Linked DNA regions of Homo sapiens: region 1 is linked to region 2. Evidence: promoter capture Hi-C in human tissues and cell types (Jung and others, 2019). All regions are on one chromosome and are shown on one strand. The core of a region is centred on a gene start or on the middle of the fragment in contact, and the rest is flanking DNA. Distances in the headings are between cores, read along the strand shown.

The links. Contacts are between HindIII fragments. The study calls those that stand out against the background at their distance.
Region 1: a contact is called between a fragment that was not itself captured here and the fragment with the promoter of HMGCR in region 2, in 1 of the 25 tissues and cell types used here (dorsolateral prefrontal cortex).

What each region holds. Positions count from the first base shown.
Region 1 is chr5:75,659,811-75,662,866 of GRCh38, forward strand. The region is part of intron 10 of ANKDD1B (ankyrin repeat and death domain containing 1B); the gene reads left to right. Among named protein-coding and RNA genes, the nearest start is that of ANKDD1B, 50 kb to the left of the region's middle. The HindIII fragment of the contact is 4,599 bases long and covers 1-3,056 here.
Region 2 is chr5:75,335,280-75,338,645 of GRCh38, forward strand. It overlaps HMGCR (3-hydroxy-3-methylglutaryl-CoA reductase), which reads left to right and starts at 1,941. Exons shown (of 20, transcript NM_000859.3): 1 at 1,941-2,021. RefSeq lists enhancers at 1,852-2,412, 2,413-2,971 and a silencer at 2,053-2,172. The HindIII fragment of the contact is 13,606 bases long and covers 1-3,366 here.

The DNA.
Region 1 (3,056 bases), core at 222-2,721, 320 kb after region 2:
CCCTTCCTCCTTCCTTTTTAGACACTGATGGCATACCTATAACTAGTATACTGTTCTGCATTTAGCTTTTTTAGCATTATTAAGTGGAGATATTACTACATGGAGAGTTTCTTCATTCTTTTTTTTTTTAGAGCTGCATAGTATAGCGTGGCACAGACATATCACAACTTGTTCAGCTAGTCCTCACTTGATTGACATTTAAGTTGTTCCTAAGGTTTTGCTCTTATAAACATAGCTGCAATGAATGACTTTACATATGTCTAAACTTGTTTTTTTAAATTAAAAAATTTGTGGTAAAATACACACACATAAACACTGTCTTAACCATTTTTATGTATATAGTTCAGTATGGTTAAGCATATTCACATTGTTATGCAATTGGTCTCCAAAACTTTCATCTTGCAAAAGTGAAACTTTACACTTATTCAATAACTTGCCATTTCTTCCTTCTCCCAGCCCCTGGGAACCACCATTCTACTTTCTGTTTCTATGAATTTGACCACTCTAAGTACCTCATATAAGTGGAATCACATAGTATTTGCCTTTTTGTGACTGGCTTAGTTCACTTAGCGTAACGTCTTCAAGGTTTATCTATGTTGTAGCATGTGTCAGAATTTCATTTCTTTTCAAAGCTAAATAACATTTCATTGTATGTCTATACCACATTTTGTTCATTCATTCATCCATCGATGGACATTTGGGTTGCGTCCACCTTTTGGCTATTGTGTAAACCTGTTTTTAAAGAAGGACAATTTTGTTTCTTTCAAGTGGTGCAGTAATGCAGGCTAAGCCTCCGGAGGGTTGTCAGAGAGCTGTGTTAGGTTCCAGCTTTACTGAATGTTATATAGGAGGTCCCTGGGTACAGTCCTGTCAGGTGCTCACGCAGGCCATATTACTTCAATCCTCACATTTCAGTGAGGTGGACAAAATCACTCCAGTTTTCAAGAGCAGATTGGAGAGATTCTGATGACATTGGGTCACACGCATAGTAAGAGGCAGAGCTGGCTTCAAATCCAAGTAGTGGCTGCTTTGTCATCTGGTGCTTTGCTACAACTGTCAGCAAAGATGACTGCTTCCGAAACTTGCAGTTTTCCCTTCCTTATTTTTACCCAACAGTTCAATAGCCAGCACTTCCCTAAGTCACAGTGCAAGCCTGAGTCCACCCTACTCTAGTTCAGAATCATCCATTTTACATGTGTAGGATCTAAAGTAGTTATATGTTATTTTACTTTTCTCTGTGTGTCAGTTTCTAAAATTAGGTTTTTTTGTTTTTTTTTTTCTGATCATAAAAAAAGTAACACAGACTGGCTGGGCGCGGTGGCTCACACCTGTAATCTCAGCACTTTGGGAGGCTGAGGCAGGCAGATCATGAGGTCAGGAGTTTGAGACCGGCCTGACCAACATGGTGAAACCCTGTCTCTACTAAAAATACACAAATCAGCCGGGCATGGTGATGCGCAACTGTAATCCCAGCTACAGCGGGGGCTGAGGCAGAAGAATCACTTGAAACCGGAAGGCGGAGGTTGCAGTGAGCCGAGACCGTGCCAGTGCACTCCAGTCTGGGTGAAAGAGCGAAACTCCGTCTGAAAAAAAAAAAAAAAAAAAAAAAAAAAAAGTAACACAGGCCCACTGTGGACGATTTAGAACACAGAAAAGCTTAAGGAGGAAAACACAACACAGAATGTTATCACTTGTGTGGAATTCCACCACTTTCACCAGTTGTGCCTGGTTAATTTGGTTTAACATTTAGCCTTAGTATTTTTTAATGCTGTTGTTTTGTATTTTATTCTACTTTTTCATGAATACTTAATACCCCCAAAGCCATTCTGTGGGTACGAAATCTATAGCATTGGGCAGGGATTTATGTTGGGGTCCCTGCTGCTTAGTGGACTAGATATTCCAGTAAATACAGTCAATGCTACCATTTGACTTTGTTTTCAAAACAAGAGCTCACAGTTTACTGGGCCTCATGATTTGACTTTCCCAGATTTCCCTTCTTCTCCTTTCTTTTCAAGGTCTGGCACATAGTTGGCACCCAATACATAGTTAATAAATGAATAAAAAATATCTTTTCTATTGGCTCCCACAATTTTTTTTTTTTTTTTTTTTTTTTTGCCAAAGAAAAGTGTTTCTAGGACCATGTTAGGGTCTGGTTAGGAAATAAGGAATCAAAGTTTGGTATAAATTTGACTTTCCCAGCAGCTTGTTCTCTGCTTGTCCTCTTGGCCTGAGGTGTCAAAAAGCTCTCAGAGAACCTTCTATCCACGCTACCTCCCAACCCCTAAGGGTAGAAGTGTTTGGATTTTCACTCCAGCATATATTCCTTAGGAAGATTTTCCTTTGAACTTGGAAACTCTGGCTCTCAGAATGCTGCCTTCTCAAAGCAGGCTAATTATAGTGATTCAAATGGCTCTGCAAGACAGAATGTAGACAGCATACAATTAGAGGCTTGCTAAATGCCTGCAAAATGCAGTTCTTCCTAATTTCATTACTGTCTCTTTTGATTACAGGCTGATTACTTTCAGCCCTAATTTTCCTGCTCCCCTGGGTCTTAGTGCCTAGACTAAGAACCAAATCATTTATATTGGTGGGAATCGCACTTGTTGCAAATATCTAACCATGTAAGATAATACTTGGGATATATTTCTGGATCCATAAGGGTTCCTAAGATTGGAACTCTTCTTCTTGGGTCATTTCTGACCATTAATTTTAATTGTTTTCTGAGCAAATTCTTCATGGGTCATTTGAAAAGCAAATGAGAACCACCATCCTTTGCTCAGGGAAAAATATTTAGATGTTGAAGTGGTGCACTCTATGAAATCCAGAGGATTCTGCTTGCAAAGCTCTATGCCCTGGCTTTGAGCTCTGTCCATCTTGAGAAAAGTGTACCTTTTTGTAATTCGTCTAAGTTACCATGTGGGCTCCAGGCAGTTCATTCCCAAAATTATGTCCAGAACAGCCCTTGTTGATCATTCCATTTGTTTAAGATTAAAACCTCTCACCCTTGGTGAGAGGCAGTATGGTATAATAGAAAAAATTTCTAGTTAGGGGTCCAG
Region 2 (3,366 bases), core at 691-3,190:
GTGTTTCTTTATTGCTTGCTTTGGAACTCATATTCCTATTGGAGTTCCCAATTAGGCAGTTTGCGAATGAAAATTTCTAAATCTTGGGCTAAAGCCTGTTTTGGTAACAACTTTAGTCCTTATTTGAATTACATTAGTAGGCATGTGTACAACCTGTAACTTCTGAGATATTTGGTCCTTGAGACTTCTAGCGGCATTAAAAATATGACAGGTTCTAGGCTCTCGGTACTTACACACTTTTCTCTCTTTTTTTTTTTTTTTTTTGACAAGGCTGCTAAGAGAACACTGCAATCTTTGGGTAGTTCACCCGTTTTCTTTACTGTGCAAGGTTCATAAAGGCAGGCACTATGTCTGTCATGTTTGTCACTATATCTCCCATGCCAACCACAGTGTGTACTTCACATAATGAGCATTTCAAAGGCAACATTTGGTAAAGAGATATGAATGAAGGTCTTACACTGAAGCAGTGGGGAACAGTAGAACCAGCCTAAGCATTAGATCTGGGTTCAAATTCCAGTTTTGCTCATTATCTATGTGATCTACAGCAAGTTGCTTGACAAACTTTAATTTTTACTTTTTTGTAAAATGGGAATAATACCTATTATATAAGGATTATAAGAATCTATAATCATTTATTAAAACTAAGGAGTGTTTAGTGTTTTCTTCGTAATGTGTTTCAAAATATGGGCTTTAAAAATTGAGTGAAATACAATTCCTGTCCTTAATAAATTTCCACATACGATAGTAAGACAAATAAAAAAATACTACGGAAATTTTATGGGTTTTCAAGGTCGGGAGTGATGATGTGTTTGAGGGAATTAGGAAAGGAGGTGGCATATGAAAAAGTCCTTAAGGGATATTTAGGATCTCAGCAGTTAAAATGGGTAGGCATATCCAAGGTAAACAAAGAGAACATAAGCAGGGAGGTAAAAAGGTACTGAGTGTGACTGAAGAAGGGCCAGTTACTCCTGGCTGAACTGTAAGGTTCGCACAGGAAAGTAGAGATACGTCAGAAATGTGTGGTGGGGCCATATTAGTGGTGACAGGTTCTTTCTTTAATCCAGTAGACAATGAGAAACGCTGATTTGGGTCTATGGCATAATAGGAAGTAGTATGCCACATACTGCATGTGGGAGTTCTGCAGGACAGATTGGGAAGTGCATGCGTGTAAGACTGGGAAGACCAGTTAGGAGAGGCTATTGCACTGTTTTAAGTAAGACATAATAAAGCCCTGCACCAGGCGGAGAGCAGAAGGAACGCACAGAAGACGCAGGAGAGGCACATTTCAGAGAGAATCCAGTATGCAATGGATGTCGCACACAAGAGAGAGAGACGCAGGTGACCGGAGCCATTTACACTAATGGGTAAATCTCGGGAAAGCGCTGGTTTCGGCTACCGGCCAGTTACAGGTTTGAGGTGCCCGTCGCCGCCACCTTCCCTTTTTTTATATTCCTCTTTTTCTCATGGCCGCCTCCGCTTCCCTCCATCTCTCCCGCGCTAGTAACTGAGCTTTCAGTCATCGACCTGACCCTGCGTTTTCCCTCACGCTCCGATTCTGCTTCCTATCACTGCCTCCTACTGTACTATCACAGCCAGGACGAGCACGGGTCAGGCACTGAGGCTGTGGGACACTCCACCCGCCTGGTCCCCTATCGCCTCCGCCTAGGCAGCTGCCATGCGTGCGCCCCCACAGCTCTAGGACCAATAGGCAGGCCCTAGTGCTGGGACTCGAACGGCTATTGGTTGGCCGAGCCGTGGTGAGAGATGGTGCGGTGCCTGTTCTTGGCCCTGCAGAGAGCTGTGGGCGGTTGTTAAGGCGACCGTTCGTGACGTAGCGCCGTCAGGCCGAGCAGCCCCCAGGCGATTGGCTAGACAATCGAACGATCCTCTCTTATTGGTCGAAGGCTCGTCCAGCTCCGAGCGTGCGTAAGGTGAGGGCTCCTTCCGCTCCGCGACTGCGTTAACTGGAGCCAGGCTGAGCGTCGGCGCCGGGGTTCGGTGGCCTCTAGTGAGATCTGGAGGTGAGGCGGGCGGTGACCGAGAAGAGGGGCAGGGGCGGCGGGGAGCGGGGCGGAGATGGGTGGGAGCGGGGTTTGGGCTGTGTTGGTGGCAATTCTGGAGCTTCCCTCGGCCCTGGGAAGTGGCTACCGGCAGCTCCTGCGGACCTGGAGGGGGCTGCGGTTGCGCTTTGTCGGTGTGGCAGCTCGGACCCGCGGGGACTGCAAGGAATGTCCTTGAGGCCCGGCAGGCCGAGCGGCGGCCGGCATCAGTGCCGGAGTAACCCGGGGTCCCGGGGTGGGCTTGAGAGGCGGGCGGCGGTCTGGCCTCTTCGTGACTGCGGTCATCATCGGTGGACCCGCGGGGCGTAGCTGCGTTCATCGTCCCTGTTCAGTCAGAGTAGGCAGTGCTGGCTGCACGGTCACGAAAATCGGGGCGGAAAGGGTGTCAGGCAGGGTGACCTCGGAGGCCCCTGGATTCGAGAAATGCTAGGGGTCTATGGGGCTGTCGGGCCGGCAGCTCGCAGGGCAGACGGGAGAAGCGCCTGCATCCCGGGATCCGGGCATTCACGCCCAGGAACTGCTGTTCGTTAGCACCTTTCTTTTAGGTGACGGGAAAGATCTCTGTAAATACTGCTGACTAACTTAGAACCATGAAAGAACCGTGGATTGGTGTAGATGTGTCTGGTTATTTACAGGAGAACGGCTTGAGAGGATGCGGAGCCCAACGTGGGGATTCGCACAATGACTCAAAAGATTCTTCTCCCTCTTTTTTTTTTTTTTTTTTTGGTAAGGGGTGTAGTCTCCTTGGTGCTGATATTCTTTTAGGAAAAATGTACCTTGGAGATACAAATATAGAACAGTTAATTTCTGCAGTAGGAGGAGGTCGATGTACTCCATTCTTAAGTAGTCGTTTGAAATATTTCAGGATTTGAGGATATTCCTTCTTAGACATGGTCCTGCAGAGTCGTAGGAAGCATTTGTTTCTGGGCTATACTAAATGTGCATGATTTCGGCGTCCCACAAGGTAGAGAATGTACTTTTTGTTTACTTATGAATTTATTTTCCTCTCCATGCAGTGAAAGGCATTTTGCAATTTAGAGATAATCTAGCAAAGACCTGGACAGTACTTTGGGGATAGGCTGGATTTTGCAGGCCTGCTTTGTTGTAGTGTTCTTCCAGAACTTATGATAAACTTGGTGGCCAAAACAAATGGGAATTAGTAACATGAAGGTTAAACAAAATTGCACATAGGTTACAGCATTAACATGAAAATTGTCGGGTATGTGGGATAACCATTTCAAGATAAGAGTGTGAGTATGCGTGCATGCACACACTCTTTGTATTCCTTTATGGTCTAGTTTCTAGA